2 separate regions of the Homo sapiens genome follow, and region 2 is linked to region 1. The links are contacts of gene promoters, found by promoter capture Hi-C in blood cells and fetal thymus (Javierre and others, 2016). All regions are on one chromosome and are shown on one strand. The core of a region is centred on a gene start or on the middle of the fragment in contact, and the rest is flanking DNA. Distances in the headings are between cores, read along the strand shown.

Evidence for each region. Contacts are between HindIII fragments. The CHiCAGO score rates a contact against its expected background, and 5 or more counts as called.
Region 2: a contact is called between a fragment that was not itself captured here and the fragment with the promoter of MSMO1 in region 1, in 1 of 17 cell types (naive CD8 T cells). The highest score is 5.5, in naive CD8 T cells.

What each region holds. Positions count from the first base shown.
Region 1 is chr4:165,325,250-165,330,054 of GRCh38, forward strand. MSMO1 (methylsterol monooxygenase 1) reads left to right here and starts at 2,420. Exons shown (of 6, transcript NM_006745.5): 1 at 2,420-2,515. RefSeq lists a silencer at 2,019-2,358 and an enhancer at 2,449-2,718. The HindIII fragment of the contact is 2,277 bases long and covers 976-3,252 here.
Region 2 is chr4:139,294,814-139,299,618 of GRCh38, forward strand. NDUFC1 (NADH:ubiquinone oxidoreductase subunit C1) reads right to left here. Exons shown (of 6, transcript NM_001184989.2): 2 at 2,572-2,630; 3 at 919-1,147; 4 at 230-333. The coding sequence starts at 985. Among named protein-coding and RNA genes, the nearest start is that of NAA15, 4.3 kb to the right of the region's middle. RefSeq lists an enhancer at 778-1,341. The HindIII fragment of the contact is 539 bases long and covers 1,823-2,361 here.

The sequences.
Region 1 (4,805 bases), core at 1,170-3,669:
TATCTTGTATGCCAGAGACTGTGCAAAGGGCTTTACATACGTTATCTCATGTAATCATCATAAATAACTCTTCGAGGTGTAGGTATTATTATTTCACAGAAGTACCAGATAAGACAGAGAAGTAACTTATCCACTGCTAATAAAATGCCAAGCCTAGTAAGTGTGGCCCGATAGTGTGTGCTATTGATGCTCACCTGATAGAGGATGGCAGGTTTGGGCAGAGAGAAAAGTTGGGTGGCAGTGCAGTCATCACACAACCAATAGGATGGGGAGCTCTGGAGCTGGGATGGCCAAGCAAAGTAGCCCTACATTGGTTTAGGGGATTTTATACCCGTTTCAACCAGTTACTTGACTAGCTGTTGCCTAGAAAGGGGGTATACCCGTGGGGAGAGGTGCTTCTCTTTGGCAGTACTCAGCAGCTGGAGGAATGCCTGCTTAGGTCTTGAAGAGGGGGATCTGGGTGGTGTGCCACAGCATCCACTACAGGACCAACAGATTCATATGCCCACTGCACAGTATACACTGAGACAGCAGGGTTTGCAGAAGAGAAAGAGTTTAGTGATGGCAGGGTGCCGAGAGGAGATGGGAGGAAACCCTCAAATTCATCTCTCTGAGGAGTTCTGTGCTGGGGCTTTTAAGGGGATCCTGGAGGGCAATGGGCTGGAAAATTAGGGTCCTCGATTGGCTGGGGTAAGGAGGAATGAAACCATCAGGATGTGGGAACTGCATTCTTTGGTGAGTCAGCTCCTTGTCAGACCAGCTGAGTCAGTAGTTTCATCAGTACGAAGGACCTGAAAGGTTATCTCAAAGCACAAACTTAACGTTTCATAATGTTCAAGTTGTTGTCTATAGAGCAGTTAGGGGAAACTATAACCTTGTAACAGAGTCTACATGATTCTGAAGCAATAGGCAAACAATTATGAGGAAGGGGTCAGACAGCAAGCTGACCTAATTATTAATCCTCAGTGTGCTGCAAGCTTGGTTTAATTTCGTTCCCCCCACCCCTTTTTCCCAGATTAACTTCATAAAGTATATAGGCATGGTTTCAGACACCACTGTAAAGGCATCCTAAAGACAGGGCTGACTCTGACAACCAAGGGACAGATCCCATTTCTTTTCATTTGACGTGACCGCTGTCATGATACTTTACAAAGAATGTGTGTGCCAAACATGAGGGATAGACGAATAAGTACAGGTCACACTGAATCTAAAAAAGACACTTTTCAAGAGGGAACTTCCTCAAGGAGATAGTACCTGAATTGATGGGGCGGCATGGAGATGGCTGATTATTCCAGGCAGAAGGGCCAGTTTGAGCAAAAGCATGGAGGAATGAAACAATAGTATTCTGTTTTCAGAAGCTGTATATATTTGACACAATATACACATAATCAAAACATGTGTACGCCGTAAACACAATTTTTGTCAATTATACCTTAATAAAGAAGGAGGAAAAAGGGCCTTCACTAGCCCAAATGATGCCCCTGTGCGGTTTTTTCTTTAAAGGCACCTCTTCCGTTAAGTGAAAGTTTTAGTATATTATCACATCTGTACAGTTTTATTATTAAACCCCAGTACACAATATTTTAATGTTGAGAGATGGTGTAAACTGAGCTTTAGAGCTGCAAAGACCTGCGTCAAGCCCCCGCCCCCGCCCCCGCCCCCGGGCACTCATCGTCCAGCACAACAATTGCAACAACACCTGGGCGTTCTCTGCCCATGTAGCGAGGTCAAGGTCCTGGGAGCCGAACTCTCCCTTGATGTTCAATCTTTTTAAATCTTTCCCAGCCTTTATTTCTCATCTGCAAAATGACGATAATCGCATTTGAAATTCTCCGTTTTCAAAATGCAGGAATTTATTAAAGGATACGTAGGCTGGGGAAACAAGGGAGACGAAAGATCTAAATCTAAATGGTAGACCAGAAAAAGGAAGGCAAGGGTGTCTGGAAACACAAAACAGTCAACATAGATTTTAAGACTCATCTATACTCTCTTCTTCCCGGGTTTGGGAACTGCGGTTGCTACACAGGTCACATTTGAAATAAAAGTCCTGGGACGGCGGCCGGCGCGACACTCTCCCCCGCACAGCGCAGGCTCTCACTGGGAATCTGCCGGGACCGCAGTTGCCAAGGCGACTCCGCGCTGCAGGGCGAGGCGGCCATCCGTCTGTGCCCGCCCCCTCACGCCGTGGCGCGCTCTCACGCTTCCCCGCCTCCGGGCGCTCCGCGGTGCCGACCATTGGCTGGCTCTGCAGGTCTCACTATCCTCACTCCATCCGCGGAGCCAATGGCTGGGACCGCCAGGAGCTCGTTCGCGCGAGTCACACGATGTCGGCAACTGCACAGACCAATCACCGCGCCGAGAAGGCGGGGCGGGAGCTCTCGCAGGCCAATAACGACAGGACGGGCCGCCTGGCCCACCCGGCTCCACCCCCAAGCCAGGCGAGGCAGGTTCCGAGGTTGGAACACCTGGCGAGTCCTCGGTGTCGGTGGCCGGCAGTCATCTCGCGGCCGTTCAGGTGAGGGGGTTGGAGGAGTGGCTCATGAGCGAGGAAGGGGGAGCAGGCGGGCTCCCACCCGGTGCTCCGTGAGATCGAGGGGAGCGGGTTCTGGGTGCGGATGCACGCGCTGGGCGGGACGCTGGCAGTGGTACCCGAGACGGGGCGGAAGGAGACTGGAGTGAAGGTGGGCCTAGGCTAAGGTACGTGCTAGAAAGGATGAAAACGGAGTGAAATTCTTAAGTGATGGAACTAGGCTAGGGCATGTTTCTTGCCCTTTAAAATGTGTTGTCTTCGGGAGACAGGACGTAGAAGATAGTTGCAGCACAGGGTGATAGGCTGGCGAAAGTTATACAAAAGCAGGAACCACTAGAAGGAGGTAAGATGTAGTGTGCTTTGGGAGTAGTGGGGTTGGGAAGGGCGTCCGAGAGGAGGTTACTGAAGGATGACTAGGAGTTGAATGGGAGGACATCACCTGTAAGGGAACGATATTTCCGTGGGCAGAGAGGAATGAAGCAGTAGCAACCATGAGTGATCAGATACTGCAAAAATGTGAAGTGTAGGATGGCGAGAATGTAAGAAATGAAGAGTGAAGAAGTCTGGAAGGGCCTCGTGTGCATCAATCACAGCGGGGCTTGATCTTTATGCTTAGGGCAAGCACTCCCTTGAACTTTGAGTGTTTTAAGGAGGTTATCTCTGATGTTTAAATTTATATAGATCGTGGCATTGCATCTTAGAAATAAGGTTTAGGAAGGGCAAGCTTGGAGGCAGGGCAAGTCCAGAAAATGAAGGAGCTGGTGAAATCCGTGTTAAAGTGCCAAAGGACAGAGACTGGCTGACAGCTAAACTTCAAGGTTTCTGAGAATCCACAAATAACTAAATTTATCTAGTCAACCTGTTCCAGAACAGGCTTCCAGTCATTTAGGTTGCCCAAGAATGAGTAAAGGAAAAGGAAATTCAATTTTCCAAGACCTTGTTTCCCCTCTCCTCTTTAATTCCTTGTTCGGTTAGCAACAGTATATCCATTCCCTCGCTCCTTTGTGAAAAGTAAATTCCTGAATGTTAACTAAACCAAGTGTTTCTAAATTGGGTAAGAGTTTGAAGACTTAAGGCAGCAGAATGGGAGAGACTTAAAACGTTATGTCTGAGAATTAGGCATTAAAGGAGGCCTAGTATTTGGGCGGGGGTTGTGAGGAGCACATACTGAACCTTTGGACCTGTTGAGTGAGTTCATGTGCCTCTGAACTCTCTGACTGGATATGACCAGTAAACTTGGATAATTAGATCCTGGAGTTTAGGGGAGAGGGCTAGAGATAGAGATGATGGATGTCAGCATATTTTTAAAACAGAAAATAGTTAAGATCACCCAAGACAATCTGGAATCGTTAGAAGGGAGTAAGGAAGGCATTATTGGGAAACTTTCCAGCTTCAATTCTCATATTTTTTCTAATCTCCTGGTTGAGTCTTTGGAGTTGCTGTTCTCTCTATGCAAAACCCCTCCCTTGACCCTCTCTCCCTCACTCTATTTTTTAATTTGTCACCTCCTTCTCCTGTTCTAGGTCTCAGTTTAGATAGCACCTTTCTCTAGAAGTTCATAGCACTGTGTATTCCCCCCTTTATTGTTCTTATCACATAATTTTTGATGGTTTGGACACTAGTTGTTATTCCTCACTAAATTTTATGTTTTATGAACTCAGGGGTAAGGGCACCAGCTAGCACAATGAATGCACAATACTTGTCAGAGTGAATGCATTTAAGTTCCAAGAACCAAGGAAAGGCGGTATTTCAAGAAGAGAAGTATCAAATCTTCCAGATTAGTCAAATAAACTCCAAAAAAAAAAAAAAAGGTTTATTGGATTTGGCAGCTGGAGATCCATAGCGATTTTTTTTTTTTTTTTTTTTTTTTTTTGAGACGGAGTCTCACTCTGTCGCCCAGGCTGGAATGCAGTGTCGTGATCTCTGCTCGCTGCAACCTCAGCCTCCCGGGTTCAAGCAATTCTCCTGCCTCAGCCTCCCCAGTAGGTGGAATTACAGGCATACGCCACCACACCCGGCTAATTTTTTTGTATTTTTTTGGTGGAGATGTTTCACCATATTGGCCAGACTGGTCTGGAACTCCTGACCTTGTGATCCGCCCACCTCAGCCTCCCAAAGTGCTGGGATTACCAGCGTAAGCCACCACACCCAGCCTCCTTAGTGATTTTAGTAAGAGTAAGTTCAGTGCAGTGATGACAATAGAATGCAGATTGCAGTTGCTAGAATATAAACAGGAAATAAGAAGATAAAGACAACTCGTGGAATACCTTTTCAT
Region 2 (4,805 bases), core at 842-3,341, about 26 Mb before region 1:
AAATTTTAGTCCCATCATACTTTTTCAATGTTGCTGAAATCTTAATTTCTTTTTAGTCCTTGGGATTTCTCTTATGGAAAAATACGTATCAGCGATTATATAAATATCCTACTGTTATGAGAGTTTCACTGCCATACAACATATAACAGCACCATTCAATCTCGCAATGTTATGTCATTCCCTTACCACGCTGGTGTAGTCTCACGACATCCGGGAGTAAAGTACTTACATAGATCCACAAGAAGACAGTGGTGCCCAAGGTGAACCCAACTTTCAGCCAGTCAGGTTTGGCATTCGGCGGCTCTCGCACGTAGAACTTTGATCGCACTGAAGCTGAAAGGGGAAGAGGGTCTGTAAATTTGTAACTTACTGCCTTGTAGGGAAAAAACCCTAACATTTACGTGCGTATTATCGCATTTAATTCTCCCTTCAACTCCCCCATCTCCCACTTAAACAGCCAAGGAAATAGAGGTTCAAAGAGATCAAGTACCTCGCCCAGGGCCACTGGCGAGTTAGACAGGACGCACCTGTCCTGTCCGAGGCTTTCAAAGCCTCGTTTAAGGGCTTGCGGACCCTCAGACGACTCGGGAGTGGTCATGTAAGGGGCGCCCCGGGGAGGGTGTCTCCTCTCCCGGTTTACGGGACCTAACGTACAGAGGTGGGGAAGGCAAGGACCCAAAGTCCATTTACAAAGGCCAAGAGTGGTCAGGTTGAACTTGGATAAGTGCTAGAGGCGGGTGATGGGGAGCAGAGAGCCCTGCGTAGGGGACAGGCGTGGGCTGGGCCTTGGGTCGTCTGCCGGCGAAGGTCACTGCAGGACGAACCCGGGCCGCTGCCGCCTCCTGCACCCGTGGGCTGGGTCCGCCTTAGGAGGGGTAATCTGAGGGTCGAGTCGGCCTGCACGAGGAGGATACTCACGGCCGCTCGGGAGCCTGGCGGGGGCCAGCAGCCGGGAAAGGGGACGCAGCAAGGCGGACGGCGCCATCTTGCGTGGCCCAGCTCAGTCTCTCCGAGTTGGCAACAGAACCAGCGCCACCTGGCGGCCGGAAGTGCGGGACTCGAGGGCTCTGCAGCAGAGCTCCGTGGGGGCGTCAACGTGAATTCCAGCACGGCAAGGTTCTCTAGCACCCCGGCCTCAGCCTTCTGTCTATACAGTGGAATTAGGAAGAAAATAATTAAAAGAAAAAAGAGTTTACCTATTCTCTGTCCTCTGGGGGTTTTTCACCCCATCTCTACGGCTATTCATCAAGAGGTTTATTAAAATTTTCCTACATGAGCCAGAAGAAAGAAAAGTGTCGTGCTGAATAATAACTAGCATTTGGATTGAATTCTGTGGTCCAGGCACGGTGCATTAATGTATCATATGGTTTACATTCATTGTCTTATTTCATCTTCAAAACGAGCACATATCATGCCGTGGTTATAAGCCTCAATTTACAGATGAAGCTTAAAGAAGACAGCTACTCATCCAAGGTGACATATTATATTTTACAGTTGAAAAGATCTCTTAACACTTACCACTTACACTCACGATCATACTGAAGCCTCACAAACCTGTGAAGTAGAATTAGTGCCTTAGGTAGGCTTAAGATCACACAGATGGCAGAGGTGGGATACAGTTTGAGGTCTTCTGACTCCAGATCTAGTGATCCTCATTAGCCCACCTAACAGACTTGGACCACCCTAGACCATAAGCTGTAGAATCAGCGTTCAAAGCCATTCTGCTCACCACTTTTTAGCTCTATGATTTCTAGGCAAATTACTTAACCTCTCTATACCTAAGTTTTACATCTGTAACATAAAACCTATAGGGTTGCTGAGAAGCTTAAACAAGTGTCTGGTAGTAGTAAACAATTTATTTGGTTTTGCCTATTAAAGACATCGTTCTGAGGAATAGGTTTTATCTTGCACAGTTGAGCCAGATCTTTGTACATTCAATTCAGTTCAATCTGATGTCTAAAGACCAGTAAAAATATTTATAGGTAACAGACAATACATTTTGACCCTTTAAAACTAATCCTTTAAACTTTATGTCATTAATTTTAAAACCAAAATAAATGTTAGCAAATCTCCTATATTCTCTTTAGCAATGTTATTTTAAGATCTTTTTTAACCAAAAATTATTGACCAAAAAGTCAATTAATTGCACTGTGTTTTCTGGCTCATTTTAACATGCAAATGGTGGCTAAATGGATTGCTAAATTGTGAGTCACTTTAGTTTGTAACCTAGTTTGAGCCTCCTGGACTCATGCTCAAGTAAGTAAACTACCCAATGAATGTGCTGAGCCAGTTGTTGGTTCGCCACTTATTGTCCACTCAGCAACCTGTCAGTTGTATATCCTTTCTACACCATCCGTTGGAAGCTTGTCCTGATGAAGCTTTTGCTAGTATCCAACAAGTTGAAACAGATGCTATCTTTAGTCAGAGTATTCAGAACCAGTAAGCAAATTACTAATTTCAGTACTGCTATTGAGAAAGACTGCTTTGTTCTTTTTCAGAGCTTTGGCCCTTGTATCCTTTTACTAGTGTGTATTTTGGGAAAGTGATGAAGTATAAGCACATTTTTCTCACCATATTAGAGCTGATGGGAACTGTACACTTGGAGTACCCAGCTGTATGTGAAACTGCATCTAGAAAAGAATCCTGATTAAGTAATTCCAGCTAGGAACTAATATCTATAATATTTTGTTAGAAGTTGCTTCATAACATTCATGTAAGCATCTTCAGAATTTGAACACTAAAATCTTATTTATGATCCAGGTGAAAAGAGAGAGGATTTGAGTTAGCAGCTAGAAAAGCAAAGTTTCAGTCCAAGATTTTTCCACTGGGAAAAAATCACATCTCCCAAGGAAGGTAAAAAAAGAGCAAGAATTGAAAAACAGTATAAAATGCAAAAAACAAAACAAAAAATCCCTATTTTTATTGATACAGCATGCATGAGAATACTATGAATCAAACTTAGGACTTGGGCCAGTCACAGTGGCTCAGGCCTCTAATCCTAGCACTTTGTGAGAACAAGGTAAATGGATTGCCTGAGTCCAGGAGGTCAAGACTGGCCTGTGCAACATAGGTAGATAACTATCTCTACAAAATGATTTTTTAAAAAATTAGCTGGGTGTGGTGGTGCATGTCTGTGGTTCCAGCTACTCGGGAGGCTGAGGTTGGAAGATCGCTTGGACCTGGGAGGTGAGGCTACAGTAAGCCAAGACTCTGCCACTGTACTCCAGCCTCGGTGACACAGTGAGACCCTGTCACAAAAACAAAACAAAAGAAAAAAACCAACAACCTCCCACCTCCCCACACACCAAGATGTATCTATAAGTTTTTATTTTTTAAGACTCAGCAGCTGGGCGCCCTGGCTCACGCCTGTAATCCCAGCACTTTGGGAGGCCGAGGCGGGCGGATCACCTGAGGTCGGGAGTTCAAGACCAGCCTGACCAACATGGAGAAACCCTGTCTCTACTAAAAATACAAAATTAGCCGGGCATGGTGGTGCATGCCTGTAATTCCAGCTACTCGGGAGGCTGAGGCAGGAAAATCGCTTGAACCCAGGAGGCAGAGTTGCGGTGAGCTGAGATCGCACCATTGCACTCTAGCCTGGGCGACAAGAGCGAAACTCTGTCTCAAAAAAAAAAAAAAAAAAAAAGATTCAGCAGCAGGCCGGGCGTTGGGGCTCACATCTATAATCCCAGCACTTTGGGAGGCTGCGGTGGGTGGATTGCTTAAGCCCAGGAGTTCAAGAGTAGCCTGGGCAACATTGAGAAATCCTGTCTATACACACACACAAAAAAAACCCAGAAGCAATAGCAAATTGTTAACATTTGTTAAATCTAGGTGACAAATACATGAATTTCTTTTATATTCTTTTTTTTTTTTTGGAACAAGGTCTCAGCTCTGTTGCCCAGGCCGGAGAGCAGAGGTGTCATCACAGCTCACTGCAGTCTCGACCTCTGGGGCCGAAGGAATCTTCCCACCCAAGCCCACAAAGTAGCTGGGACTACAGGCTCACAGCACCACACCTGGCAAATTTTAAAATTTTTTTGTAGAGACAGGGTCTCACTATGTTGCCCAGGTTGGTCTCAAACTTCTGGGCTCAAGCGATCTTCCTGCCTCAGCCTCCCAGTGTCGGGATTATAGGTATGAGGCATTATGCCTGGCCTATGTTTTTTTTTTTGAGATGTAGTCTCACTCTGTTGTCCAGGCTGGAGTGCAGTGGTGCGATCTTGGCTCACTGCAACCTCCACCTCCCAGGTTCAAGCGATTGTCTTGCCTCAGCCTCCTGGATAGCTGGGGTTACAGGCACGCACCACCACACCCGGCTAATTTTTGTATTTTTAGTAGAGACGGGGTTTCACCATGTTGGTCAGGCTGGTCTTGAACTCCTGACCTTGTGATCCGCCCGCCTCAGCCTCCCAAAGTGCTGGGATTACAGGTGTGAGCCACCAAGCCCAGCCTTTTTTTTTTTTTTAAATAAGATCCAAGTACTTAATAAGATGTAACAGTCTCAATAGAGAACATCTTACATATATGGAGAAATTTCACTCAACATATCCCTTTTGTAGAATTAAAGTTTGCAAGGTAAATGATTTTATTTCTTTCTTTTTGGTTAATATTTTTTAGAGTTAGCATTTGGAACATAGTGACATGCAAGCACATGGGGTAAGATGAATTAACTATCATCAGCAGCAGCAGCGGCAGCATATAGCCTTGGATATGTTAACTTTCTGAAAGCATGGCTGTTACTTACAGTATAACTCAAATGGGATCTCTATTTGTGAAATTGTGGTGATCAGAGTAAATATATA